Regions from separate parts of the Homo sapiens genome. Here regions 2, 3, 4 and 5 are each linked to region 1. Evidence: promoter capture Hi-C in human tissues and cell types (Jung and others, 2019). All regions are on one chromosome and are shown on one strand. Each heading gives the region's core, a stretch centred on a gene start or on the middle of the fragment in contact. The rest is flanking DNA. Distances are from core to core; before and after follow the strand shown.

The links. The method cuts DNA at HindIII sites, captures the fragments that hold promoters and counts their contacts. A contact is called where the count stands out against the background at its distance.
Region 2: a contact is called between a fragment that was not itself captured here and the fragment with the promoter of TRIP4 in region 1, in 1 of the 25 tissues and cell types used here (mesenchymal stem cells).
Region 3: a fragment that was not itself captured here is called in contact with the fragment with the promoter of TRIP4 in region 1 in 3 of the 25 tissues and cell types used here (dorsolateral prefrontal cortex, liver and small bowel).
Region 4: a contact is called between a fragment that was not itself captured here and the fragment with the promoter of TRIP4 in region 1, in 1 of the 25 tissues and cell types used here (spleen).
Region 5: a fragment that was not itself captured here is called in contact with the fragment with the promoter of TRIP4 in region 1 in 1 of the 25 tissues and cell types used here (mesendoderm cells).

Annotation. Positions count from the first base shown.
Region 1 is chr15:64,386,486-64,389,185 of GRCh38, forward strand. It overlaps TRIP4 (thyroid hormone receptor interactor 4), which reads left to right and starts at 1,351. Exons shown (of 13, transcript NM_016213.5): 1 at 1,351-1,479. The coding sequence starts at 1,379. It also overlaps a transcript of PCLAF not described here. RefSeq lists enhancers at 1,066-1,566, 1,148-1,637, 1,567-2,067. The HindIII fragment of the contact is 11,205 bases long and covers 1-2,700 here.
Region 2 is chr15:64,220,483-64,223,182 of GRCh38, forward strand. The region is part of intron 4 of CSNK1G1 (casein kinase 1 gamma 1); the gene reads right to left. Among named protein-coding and RNA genes, the nearest start is that of PPIB, 59 kb to the left of the region's middle. The HindIII fragment of the contact is 8,374 bases long and covers 1-2,700 here.
Region 3 is chr15:64,622,275-64,624,974 of GRCh38, forward strand. ZNF609 (zinc finger protein 609) reads left to right here. Exons shown (of 10, transcript NM_015042.2): 3 at 553-778. All of the region lies in intron 3 of LOC101930091 (a long non-coding RNA gene), which reads right to left. Among named protein-coding and RNA genes, the nearest start is that of OAZ2, 80 kb to the right of the region's middle. RefSeq lists an enhancer at 375-454. The HindIII fragment of the contact is 8,404 bases long and covers 1-2,700 here.
Region 4 is chr15:64,574,416-64,577,115 of GRCh38, forward strand. All of the region lies in intron 2 of ZNF609 (zinc finger protein 609), which reads left to right. All of the region lies in intron 4 of LOC101930091 (a long non-coding RNA gene), which reads right to left. Among named protein-coding and RNA genes, the nearest start is that of ZNF609, 120 kb to the left of the region's middle. The HindIII fragment of the contact is 4,551 bases long and covers 1-2,700 here.
Region 5 is chr15:64,238,421-64,241,120 of GRCh38, forward strand. All of the region lies in intron 4 of CSNK1G1 (casein kinase 1 gamma 1), which reads right to left. Among named protein-coding and RNA genes, the nearest start is that of PPIB, 77 kb to the left of the region's middle. The HindIII fragment of the contact is 3,318 bases long and covers 1-2,700 here.

The DNA of each region.
Region 1 (2,700 bases), core at 101-2,600:
AATTTTTTTCATTTTTGTAGAGATGAGGATTCTCCTTATGCTGCCCAGACTGGTCCGGAACTCCTGGGCTCAAGTGATCCTCTTGCCTCTGATTCCCAAAGTGCTGGCATTACAGGCATGAGCCACCACGCCCAGTGTGTGTGTGTGTGTGTGTGTGTGTGTTTGTGTGTGTGTCTCCGTGTGCGCTCGGGTGATCCTCCCGCCTCGGCCTCCCAAAGCGCTGGGATTACAGGCATGAGACACTGCGCCCGGCCAATACACTCATGATTTTAATTATAATATTTATGCCAATGAAAACACTAGCAAAAAGGTAAAACAGCTGCCAATTTAATGTGACCACTTAGTCTAAACAGGCTAGTAGAAATGAAGAACTTTTAACCTGCAAATGCAACAAAAAGCCAGAAATGAATGGGAAGACATTATGATCTCCAGAAAAGTTTGGCTAAATTTTCCCCAGCCCATTGTCTTAGCGGGGTAGGGAATTGCAGACAGCCCTTAAATACTGTCATTTTTGGTTGAGAACTCATGTGGAAAGTCCTCAAAGCCAAATTCCAACTCCTGTTTTACTGTTTTTTACCCTCGAGCTTGCTGAGTTGTCTTGGCTCTCCTGGAAAATACATGGCTCAAAAAATAAAATAGAAGTTTTAGCGGTGTGAATCTAGTAGTCGACTACAGGGGGTATTAAAAATAAACACTCCATCCCGGTTAACACGTGAAACCGCGTCGCTACTAAAAATACAAAAAAAATTAGCCGGGCGTGGTGGCGGGTGCCTGTAGTCCCAGCTACTTGGGAGGCTGAGGCAGGAGAATGGCATGAACCCGGGAGGCGGAGCTTGCAGTGAGCCGAGATCATGCCACTGCACTCAAGCCTGGGCGACAGTGCGAGACTCCGTCTCAAAATAAATAAATAAATTAATTAATTAATTAAAAAATTAAAACCACCACCAGAGCAAAAACTTACAGCGCTTACAATACCTTCCACGTGCTGTTTTATTTTACATAAAACCATGACGATTAAAAAGCTGGCCTCTCAGCTTTCCGGGTATTGGTTTGTTTTCCCCCTAAACTGTCGTTTTTATAGGCACTTGCACTGTCTTCTTAGCAGAATTGCCAATGGCCTTCCTCGAGTCCTACGTTTAGCGATTGGCAAGAATCATGCACTGACAGAGCTCGACTCCGGAGGGCACAAGGAAGTAGACAACAAAGCAGGAAGAAGCAGGAGGCGCACAGATGGGCGGGATCTGCACTGGAGGCGGTGCGACCTTGCGGGGCGGTGCAAGCTGGCGGAACCCGCGTGAGAGAGGTTGGTGTTGCGAAGGGAACTAGTCCGGTGCAGGACGTGGGGCTTTTGCAGCTCAGCTGGTTCCGGCTGGGGAAGATGGCGGTGGCTGGGGCGGTGTCCGGGGAGCCGCTGGTGCACTGGTGCACCCAGCAGTTGCGGAAGACTTTCGGCCTGGATGTCAGCGAGGAGATCATTCAGTGAGAACAGTTCGGGTCCAAGCGGGGAAGGAGCTCTGGGATGTGCACTGCCTGAGCGAACCGGGAAGCGGGGAGGACTGAAAAGTTAAGAGAGAAATGTGATAAAGGGGCTGCAGTCTGTAGTCTGTAGGCGTCGAATTTTGGCCTCCACCTTTGTAGTTTAGTTTCTGGAATAGGGTGTCCGGCTCCACAGTCTGCCGGTCGGGCTTTTTTCCTGGGAAGACGCCCAATCTGTAATAATTAGAAATGCAAGGCTGTCCCAGGAGCCAGTTTCCTTTCTAGAGAGAAGGGGCAGGTCAAACTGTATTTCCTAACTTTGAACCCCTTACTCTTTTATTTATTTATTATTATTGTTGTTATTATTGAGACGGAGTCTCTGTCGCCCAGGCTGGCGTGCGGTGGCGCGATCTTGGCTCACTGCAACCTCCGCCTTCCGGGTTCAGGTGATTCACCTGCCTGAGCCTCCCAAGTAGCTGGGATTACAGGCACGCACCACCACACCCGGCTAATTTTTAAAAATTTTTAGTAGAGTCAGTGTTTCACCATGTTGGCCAGGCTAGTCTCCAGCTCCTGATCTCAAGTGATCCGCCCGCCTCGACCTCCCAAAGTGCTGGGATTACAGGCATGAGCCACCGCACCCAGATATACTCTGAACATTTTAGTCGGCCCAATCTGAGTTGTGTCAGTAGAGCCAACAGGGTCAGCTGTGTCAATAGGACCTAGAATTTAAGTGGAAGCAGCGTGGTAGAGTACAAATAGCTTCTGACTCTGGAGTCTCAGGTTCTATATTCTGTTGTCGTTTACCTGTTTTAGAACCCAGGACAACTTAATTTTTCTCTCTGTACCCTGGTTTCTTCATTTATAAGATTAATCATTAGTAGAGCTTATCATGCTTTATGACTCCTATGAAATGGAGATGGTGTACATGACTTAATATCTACTTTCAACTGATTGAAGAACATTTGTTGCGCTGCTGTTACACGCCAGGTGCTGGGGTAACAAAGACAAGACAGTTGGGTTCCCCTTCGTTGATGAGTGCTGAGGTTGGGGAAATGAAGGGGCTTGTTGGAGCACAAAATAAAGGATTCTCATTAAGATTTGAAAAACTCGGAAGGTTTATTGGAAAGGATAACTTTCACCCGAGAACTAAGGAATAGACAGAGGTGGCGGTCCAAAGTGTTCAGGCAGGGGAGAAAACTACAAAAATGGGACTTGATCGAA
Region 2 (2,700 bases), core at 195-2,694, 170 kb before region 1:
AGAAATGAGTGTATAACTCTTTTTTTTTTTTTTATTCAGAGTCTTGCTCTGCTGCCCAGGCTGGAGTGCAGTTGCATGATCTTAGATCAGTGCAACCTCCGCCTCCTGGGTTCAAGCTTTTCTCTTGCCTCAGCCTCCTGAGTAGCTGGGACTACAGACTCAGCTAATTTTGTTTTTAGTTTTACTCTTGCCTCAGCCTCCTGAGTAGCTGGGACTACAGACTATGGCTAATTTTTTTTTTGTTTGTTTTTGGTAGAGATGAGATTTCACCATGTTGGCCAGGCTGGTCTCAAACTCCTGGCCTCAAGTGATCTGCCTGCCTTGGCCTCCCAAAGTGCTGGGATTACAGGCATGAGCCTCCGTGCCTGGCCACTGAGTGTATAATTCTAAAAAAATTCTTTCAAGAGAGATGGCTAGAATGAAAGGTCCAGAAGCCATCTAGAATCACCAGACATCTTGACGATGTAAAGTAGTGCCAAGAATAGATGGAGCAAAAAACAGAACCTAAGTCCCTGATGGCTGTGGAGTAACCATGCTAATGTTGGACTTTTCTTCTCTCTGGATTTTTTTTATCAAAAAGAAAAATCAATCTCCACCTTGACTGAGCTACTTGTATTTGGATTTTTAAAAAGCAGCCAACTCTAATCCTAATTAATAAACATATTACTCCATTCGTTGGTTAAATTGCAAATCTGGGCATAATATCCTCTTTCTAAAGTACAAGCTAAAAGTCAGGCTTGCTTAGAAATATAATATTGGCATAATTTCCTACACTTGTTGCCAATACTTAAGGTTCAGTTTAAATGAGACAACTGATCTTGTTCTTAATAATCCTTAGTATCAAATCTAGATTATCTTTTGCCAGAAGTTTCCATGTTTACAATGAAGTCACAAAAGGATTTTGAGTAATATCTACAATTTCTAACTATAATGTCACCCATTACTCCTACCTAGGAACTTGGAAGAATTAAGAGTTCCTGCTCGCTGCATTATTGGTTTTATTAAGTACCCTGAGACCTCACAACACACTGGCAGGCTTTGGGATGCTCAAAGCAACTTCTAGACCACTGAGTGGTTTTGAAGCATTTCTAGGAGAGGGTCAAGGTCCGAGATACCAGTGTAGAAAAAGCTCAAGTCAGAGTCTTAGATCTAGTATTTGCTTCTGCTTTCAACTCTGGCACATTCCTTAGCCTCTCTGGGTTAGCTTATTCATCTGTAAAGAGGAGGGGGTTTACACAATGAGATACCATCTCACGCCAGTCAGAATGGTGATTATTAAAAAGTCAGGAAACAACAGATGCTGGAGAGGCTATGGAGAAATAGGAACACTTTTACACTGTTGGTAGGAATGTAAATTAGTTCAACCATTGTGGAAGACAGTATGGTGATTCCTTAAGGATATAGAACCAGAAATACCACTTGACCCAGCAATCCCATTACTGAGTATATACCCAAAGGAATATAAATCATTCTACTATAAAGACACATGCACATGTATGTTTACTGCAGCACTATTTACAATAGCAAAGACATGGAACCAACCCAAATGCCCATCAATGATAGACTGGATAAAGAAAATATGGTACATACACACCATGGAATACTATGCAGCCATAAAAAGGAACAAGATCATGTCCTTTGCAGGGACATGAATGAAGCTGGAAGCCATCATCCTCAGCAAACTAACACAGGAACAGAAAACCAAACACCACATGTTCTCACTCATAAGTGGGAGTTGAACATTGAGAACACATGGACACAGAGAGGGGAACAACACACACCAGGGCCTGTTGGTGGATGGGGGGTCGGGGGAGGGAACTTAGAAGACGGGTCAATAGGTGTAGCACACCACCATGGCACACATGTACCTACGTAACAAACCTGCACATTCTGCACATGTATCCCGTTTTTTTTCTCCTTAGAAGAAATAAAGAAATAACAACAACAACACCACCAAAAAAAAAAAAAAAAAAAAAAGAGGAGGGGGTTTAGACTGGTTCCTTTCAAAATCCAAATTCTTATGGCCAGGATTTCCTTCTAGCTACCTTCTGGGTTCCTCTTTGTAAAGCCACAGAACTATGAATGAAACTCACCTCCATATTTTATGAAATAACGTGTGGCACCAATTCAAATATAAGCTGGTAGTGAAACTCAACTGGAAGTGTATCTATCAGAAATATCTTTAAAACTTAAAAAAAAAAAAAAACCCAAAATGAGATGCAGTGACTTCACCTCCTACCTACTGAGTCAGAATTTCTAGGAGTGGAAGCAAACATTGCTCCACAAGTGATTCTGATGTGTAACCTCAGCTGAAAAACACTATATCTAGAGAGTAGAAATAAAGGGTTTTGCTTTGTTTTATGATTAATATAAGGATTCAGAATACAGTGACAGGTCTCTTTCAGAAGTTATTTCAGATCAAAACAACTGGACTCAATACCTTTTGAAGGAAAGAATTTTAAGGCAAGTTAAAAAGATTTCTCTGTTTAAAGTTTCTTAGTTATTTTCTTACAGAAAATATACCTTTGAGCATAAAAGTTTCTTTGGGAGATGTAGCTGTAATTTATTAGAACTATCTGTACAGAAAGCTCCCCATGCAAGTTCTACTCTGAGCCTGGTTTTTCGCAGGAGTGCCCATAAAGTGGTCTGTGCTGGTGGTAAAAGACACAAACACAAGCACACTAAGAAAGTCTGTCTCTT
Region 3 (2,700 bases), core at 104-2,603, 240 kb after region 1:
CACCTAGGATCATTAGGAATCATGGCATTCCTAGGATTTGGCTATTTCTTCCTCTCTTTATCCCCACCCAAATTCATGGATTTTATGCCAGACTAATGTACTGTTTGCTGAATGATAGATTGGTAGGAAGCATAGTGGTGGTAGCAAAACATACCTCAGATGCTGGGCCTTGTCTTTCTCATCAGTCTGTGTGCTCTGTTACTATTGAAATCTGGCCCTGATTCTCTTTCATTAGAGACTTTTTAATGAGATGAGGAAAAAATAGAACTTTTTAAAAAACATTTTAGCCAAGTGCAGTTTATGAGGAAGATCATTAAGAAGATCATTATACGCTCATTAATAAGAGTTTCTCTTAGCACAGGATGTTCTCATCTAAACCACTAGATTTGTAGTGGTATCATAAGCCAGAACTTGAAAGGAAGAACCAAAGTCTTATTTATAGCCGTCTGCACTCTGGCAGGAATAGATATAGGACTAGATTAAATACAGAAAAGGTATTTCCTCTAAATGTTCTCCCTGCAACTCAGCTACTACTTTTTCTTCCCTCCACAGATGGAGTCCCCTGTTTCCACACCAGCAGTGCTGCCAATACACCTTTTGGTGCCAGTGGTCAACAATGACATCTCATCTCCCTGTGAGCAGATCATGGTTCGTACCCGATCAGTTGGGGTCAACACATGTGATGTGGCTCTGGCCACAGAGCCTGAGTGCTTGGGCCCCTGTGAACCTGGAACTAGCGTCAACCTTGAAGGCATCGTGTGGCAGGAAACAGAAGATGGTAAGTGTGATATGTGGCTTTCCCCTCCCTTCTCAACCTGCTTCTGCAGGGGAGCCACCAGGGACTTATTGTTGTAAATATTACCAAGTGGTTATTAGAGTCTCAAGTGTCCACAGTCTGCGGGAGATACCCACACAGAGGATTTTAGCAGACTTAGCAAAATTTCCCAGCTTCTAGAGATTCTTCCCTTCATAGTATTCAACAGTGTTGATCCTGGTACTTATGATATGCAGTCATGTGATAGGTATTGGCCAGGTAATTCAAACTGTATCTGTACTCTCCATATTTTATATGGGAGAGTTAGATTATAAATTAAATTTGAGGTCAGGCCTGAAGAGAAAAATTAATAAAAGGGCAGCTGAGGGAGTCAAGAGGATGGAGAATAGTCACTCTTAAATTCACTTAATGTTGGCTCATTGCATATGCAGCTCTTGCCTTTTTTAACACCTATAGGTACAGCCAGTTCACTCTTCCCACTGATTGCCTCATTGCCCAGCCACCCACACCGCTTCATGTATCTGTCACTTGGTACAGATTTTATAGGAAATGTTTAGATGGTCTTGTTTTCAGGCATCCACTAAGCAGTTGGCTCACTGTAGGTTGCTGTTGCCCAAGGCATCCAGACTTCTTGCATGTTCCACTTGCCCCTGAGAACGGAATCTATTCTGTTTTGAAAATTTATGAACCTGAAAAAATGGAAGGAAGTGTAAAGAGACTTAATGGGGTATTTCAGATCTTTTGGTAACATCTGGTGGCAATTTGATTTTTGCATATTCTTTTTCTGAAGAATCCAAATCCTTGTCAGAGTATATGTGGTTAGAGAGTCTGGGCCTCAGTCCCATCATGTCTCTGCATCAGTAAACAGACTTTCAAACTGTCCTCACTCTGAGGAGTTTAGAGGCCCAGAGGAGCACAGCTAATCATCTCTGATTATCACAGAGCTATTTTGTCAGTCTGCCCCTAGAAATTCAGGCATTTCATTCTGGTCATTCTAATAAAATCTGTTCCCCTGAATATTTTGTTGTCATTCAGTATTTATTTAAAGTTTACCGTGCAATAGGTGCTGATGTGTTACAGGTTAAGAACTCTGTATTCTTGTCTGTGTCATCATTAGGAATGTAATACATCTTCAGCTTTCAGAATAACGTCGCTAATGAGGTTTTATTGTGTGCCTGAGTGGTAGAAGCTGATGCAGAGAAGGTAGAGAGAGAGTTTAACTCTAGAGGTTGACTCTGGATATGTGTATACAATATACAATCTGAAAATCACAAAGTGGCTATCTGATTTTTAAAATGTCATCTGCTTATGGACAAATGTCTGAACAGTCACAGAGTCTGTTGGAATGACAGACATATCCGGACCATATCTCTGTGCCACCAAGCAACCTTCAAGGCCTCTTACCTCAGTATATTGAAGATAGAATAAATCGATTTCCTGCCTGTTTGTTCTGCTTGCCTTTATGATGGTGACTCTTTTCCAAGAACAAGATGCTTTTTTTATGTGAACCTAACAAAAACTTTGAGAGAGTGAGGCTAATGCTTTCACTCTCCTGAGGACAATGAATACCTTTTTATCTGAGGATCCCTTCCTGCCAGGGCAAAATTAACACATAATTTTTTTTTATTTTTTGTAAATCGTTTGCACTGGAAGACTCTCTGTCAGGTTGTCACAGGCAGCCTATTATTACCAAGTTCCCCTGTTACGTACACTTTTTTTTTTTTTTTTGAGATGGAGTCTCACCCTGTCACCCAGGCTGGAGTACAGTGGTGCGATCTTGGCTCACTGCAACCTCTGCCTCCCAGGTTCAAGCGATTCTTCTCTCTCAGCCTCCTGAGTAGTGGGGACTACAGGCACATACCACCACGCCTGGTCCATTTTTGTATTTTTAGTAGAGATGGGGTTTCACCGTGCTGGCCACGCTG
Region 4 (2,700 bases), core at 184-2,683, 190 kb after region 1:
CTCATAGTCCATATTATGCAAAGCATAGAATCTGCCCAAGGGACTTAATAGCTGAATCACTCACTTGATCTGTTGTCTTTCACTCTTTCTTCCCTTTGTTGGTGGCTACAGGCAAGTATATGAGAGATATAAAACTGTAAGCAAGACAAAATCTGGACTACATATCTTTATTGCTGCTTGGGAAGTGGCCTGGGAGTTCAAATTCAAGGATTTGAAGCTTTGTACAGCTGCCCCAGATAACCTGCTCTCATTGGGATGAGGATGAAGTATTTCCACATGATTGCTCAAGTCCCTTTTCTCTTTGCCCTGATGCCCCCTCCCTCCTCTCTATTTCATTAATTGCTTAGCAGTTGCTGATGGAATTAAAACGAAATGTGTCTGCAGCCTCTGTGGTTTGCTGTCAGAACTCTCTTTCTAAGGTCTTTATCTTACTGCTAGGGATGGGTGAACATCTGATTTTGAAGCAAGAGGAGGGAGGGACCTGTGGCTGTAGTTAAATGCATTTTTCTAAAAGCAGCAGCTTGCAGAGTTGGACTCCTCCTGAAGCACTATTCATTTTACCAAGCCATGCCCTAGTCCCTTATGCTGTTCATTAATGGGGCTTGTATGTGGCAGCACAGTATATAGAAATGAATCCTGCTGAATTGCTTTTGTTGGTGATGTGGAAAGTGCTTTTCATTTTTAACTAAGAACAAGAAGGAAACAGCCTCAAAGTGTGAAAGAGTCAAAACCAAATCCCGGGGTTTCTGTGGAAGACAAGAATCTGGATATGGCTGAGGCGGGTGGATTACCTGACATCTGGAGTTCAAGACCAGCCTAACCAACATGGAGAAACCCCGTCTCTACTAAAAATACAAAATTATCTGGGTGTGGTGGCACATGCCTGTATTCCCAGCTACTCAGGAGGCTGAGGCAGGAAAATCACTTGAACCTGGGAGGCGGAGGTTGCAGTGAGCCTAGATCGCACCATTGCACTCCAGCCTGGGCAACAAGAACTCCATTTCAAAAAAAAAAAAGGAAGAAGAGGGGAAAACCAGAGGTTATCTATAATCAGTAGGATTTTTTTGCACATACAGAATTTCTGGCAATAATAATCTTTTGGACACAGGATGGGAATAACAACCATGGAGGAACTTCTGTTTTCTTAGGGAGGTCAACGTATTTATTTTCTCTTAATACCGAATTCTCTTTTCTTATTCATGGTTTTGGTTTTGTGTACTATTAATTATATAAATTAATGGGATCCCAGGTAGTATTTGTATATTTACAAAAAGGTTATGAAATTTAAGCAAGGTAAACTTAAAGATAGCCACTTGAATTTTGCCAAAATTTGGAACTTAATCTACATTCTAACCAAGCAAGCTGGTTTTATCTGAGAAAATATAAATAATTACTTGATATACTTGGCCGGGCAAGGTGGCTCACGCCTGTAATCCCAGCACTTTGGGAGGCCGAGGCAGGTGGATCACGGGGTCAGGAAATCAAGACCATCCTGGCTAACGCAGTGAAACCCCGTCTCTTCTAAAAATACAAAAAATTAGTCAGGCGCGGTGGCGGGCACCTGTAGTCCCAGCTACTTGGGAGGCTGAGGCAGGAGAATGGCACGAACCTGGGAGGCGGAGCTTGCAGTGAGCCGAGATCGCGCCGCTGCACTCCAGCCTGGGCGACAGAGCGAGACTCAGTCTCAAATAATAATAATAATAATTACTTGATATACTTGAAAAATTAATAAAAATGGGGGCTAATCAGGATTAGGCACCTTGAGAAACCAAAACCCCTGGTTTGCCTTCTTTTAGGTCAAATTTATCTACTTAGTTTATATTATAACTTACAGGTATAAATGTGGTTGTTGTTATTAATAATAATCTTTTATTCAGTGTCTACTTGCTGCCAGTTTCATGAGGCTTTCTTTAAACATTAATACTGACTTTAGGCTAGCTTAAATATATTATAAATTCTGATACAGATTTCTCTAGTCATGTGCTTCTTAGTTATGATGTCAATTCAGAATTTTTTATCAGAATTTTGTTCTAGAAAAAAAAAAAGTCAACACACGTCACTGCTATAAATTATATCCCAGAATGGGGGCTAAAATAAACTTGCAATATCTTTAAAAAATCTAACTTCCATGCCCTATTCTAGAAAGCTACTGGATGTTTCTACGAAAAGGAAGATGTGATAGAGGAAAGATGAAATTCAATAAACAAGAAAGGTTAAAGGAATCCTCAAAATAGTGGATGGAGCCAGGCGTGGTGGCTCAAGCCTGTAATCCCAGCACTTTGGGAGACTGAAGCGAATGGATCACTCGAGGTCAGGAGTTCGAGACCAGCCTGGGAGGTGGAGGTTGCAGTGAGCTGAGATCATGCTACTGCACTCCAGCCTGGGAGACAGAGCGAGACTCCATCTCAAAAAAAAAAAAAAAAAAAAAAGAATGAACTGAAGGCCCATTTTAAGAATCATATATATACACATATAAATATATACATATATATGTATATATACATATATGTGTATATATACATATAAATATATACATATATGTATATATACACATAAATATATATATGTATGTATACACATAAATATATATATGTATGTATACACATAAATATATATATGTATATATACACATAAATATATACATATATGTATATATACACAAATATATACATATATGTATATATACACACAAATATATAC
Region 5 (2,700 bases), core at 53-2,552, 150 kb before region 1:
AGTTTGAGGCTGCAGTAAGCTATGATCACGCCACTACACTCCAGCCTGGGTGACAGAGCAAGACCCTGTCCCTTAAAAAAAAAAAAAAAAAAAAAAAAATATATATATATATATATATATATATGAAAAAAAACCCACATTCCTAGTGCAGGTTTGCTTACTGTGTGACTTTAGGTAAGTTACTGAAGTTCCTGTGCTCAAAAATGGGAAAAAAAGAAACAACCACATAAAGTGCCTATTAGACTGAGCCCTACTGACTTGGGCTCCTGAATTACAGCTATGGCGTGTATTCTGAATTCAAACCTCCAGAGCACCCATTTTTTCCCTGGAGTTGGGCCAGGGCTGTGCCATGCCCCCCCAGGGATAGAGATTCACAGCTGGAACCCAACCCCCTGGATCTGGGCTGCTAAAGGTACCTCAAGACCCTGAGCCTAGGATCCTAGTCTCACGGCTGCTTGTAGGCTATGTCAGATACCAAGAGTCTCCCCATTGTGGGGAAAATGAGAACAGGAGGACCCAAAAGTCTTTTCCAACAAGGATATTAACAACCTTCTGCCATCACTACCAAAAAACTCTATACCCTAGGCCACTAAGGCATCCACATTTATTCCTGATGTTTAATGTAGCCAAAGAAGTTGCACAGAGGCTGTATCACTAAACCTACCTGCACACAGATTCATCACACTCTTCCCAACCGGCACACTAAGACCCAACTGCAGGTGAAAGTCTTTGTCTATCAAAGCCACTCTAGAAAGTTTAAGAGAGTCAACAGTTCCATTAGATGCACAAACATCAACACAGTGGTACAGAAACATGAAAAAGCAAGAAAATATGACACCACCAAAGAAGCATAACTCTTTAGTAATAGACCCCAATGAAAAGAAATTTTAAAACTGCTGGAAAAGGAACTCCAAATAATGATCTTTTGTTGTTGTTGTTGTATGTTTTTTTTCTTTGTTTTTGTTTTTGTTTTGAGACAGGATCTCACTCTGTCACTCAGGCTGGAGTGCAGTGGCACAAACATGGCTCACTGCAACCTCAACTTCCTGGGCTCAAGCAATCCTCCTGCCTCAGCCCCACAAGTAGCTGGGACTATAGGTGCGTACCACCACACCTGGCTAATTATTTTTGTCTTTTTCATAGAGATGGGGTCTTGCTATGTTCCCTAGGCTGATCTCAAACTCCTGAGCTCCATCGATCCACTTGCCTTGGCCTCCAAAAGTGATGGGATTACAGGTGTAAGTCACCCATGCCTGACCTAAAATAATAATCTTAAGGAAACTTAATGAGATACCAGAAAATACAGACAAGTAAGTCAACAAAACCAGACAAATAATTCATGATATAAACTAGAAATTCAACTAAGAGATAGATATAGAAAAGAACCAAACAGATTTCCCACAGATGAAGAATTCAATGAATTAAATAAAAAGTACAACAGAAATTCAACAGCAGACGTAAGCAGAAGAAAGTCTCTGAGCTTGATGAGAGGTCATTTGAAACTACTCAGTTAACAGAACAAAACAAAATAAGGCGGGAGCAATGTTTCATGCCTGTAATCCTAGCACTCTGGGAGGCTGAGGCGGGTGGATCACTTGAGGTCAGGAGTTCAAGACCAGCCTGGCTAACATGGTAAAACCTTGTCTCTACTAAACATACAAAAATTAGCCAGGCATAGTGGTGTATGCCTGTAATCCCAGCTACGCGGGAGGCTGAGGCAGGAGAATAGCTGGAACCCCGGAGGCAGAGACTGCAGTGAGCTAAGATTGTGCCACTGCACCCCAACCTGGGTGACAGAGTAAGACTCCGTCTCAACAAACTAAACAAAACAAAACAAAAATAATGAAAAAGAGTGAAGAAAGCTTACAAGACTTATGGGACACCATTAAGTGAACAAACATGCATATTATATGATTTCTAGAAGAAGAGATGAAAAAAGGCATAGAAAACCTATTTAATGAAATAACAACTGAAAATTTTTCATGTCTAAGGAGAGATATGAACATCCAGGTCCAGGGAGCTCAAAGGTTCCCAAATATATTTAACCCAAAAAGGTCCACTTTATATTACAGTCCTAAATTGTGAAAAGTCAAACACAAAGAGAGTACTCTAAAAACAGCAAGAAAAAAGAGTCAAGAAAATTATAAGGGAGTAACAGCAGATTTCTCAGTGGAAACCTTACAGGCCAGGAGAGAATGAAATGATATGTGCAAAGTAATGGAAAGAAAAAAAAAACTCTCAGCCAAAAATACTACATATAGCAAAGCTATCCTTCAGAAATGAGAGAGCAATAAAGTCTTTCCCAGACAAGCAAAAACTGAAGGAATCTGTCACTACTAGACTGGACTTACAAGAAATGCTCAAGAGAATCCTGCATCTGGAGGTCAAAAGATGATAATTACCATCATAAAAATACGTAAATCTATAAAACTCACTGATAAAGCAGATACACAAAGGAGAAAGAGAAAAAGAAAAAGAATCAAACCGTATCACTACAGAAAACCACCAAGTTGCGATGATTAACAGTAAGAGAGGAATAAAGAATATATAAAGCAACCAGAAAAAGATTAACAAAATGAGAGGAGTAATTCCTCACCTGTGAAAAATAGCCTTGAATATAAACCGATTATATTCTCCCACTTACAAGATGCAGACTGGATGAACTGATAAAAAACGATGACCCAACTATATACTGCCTAC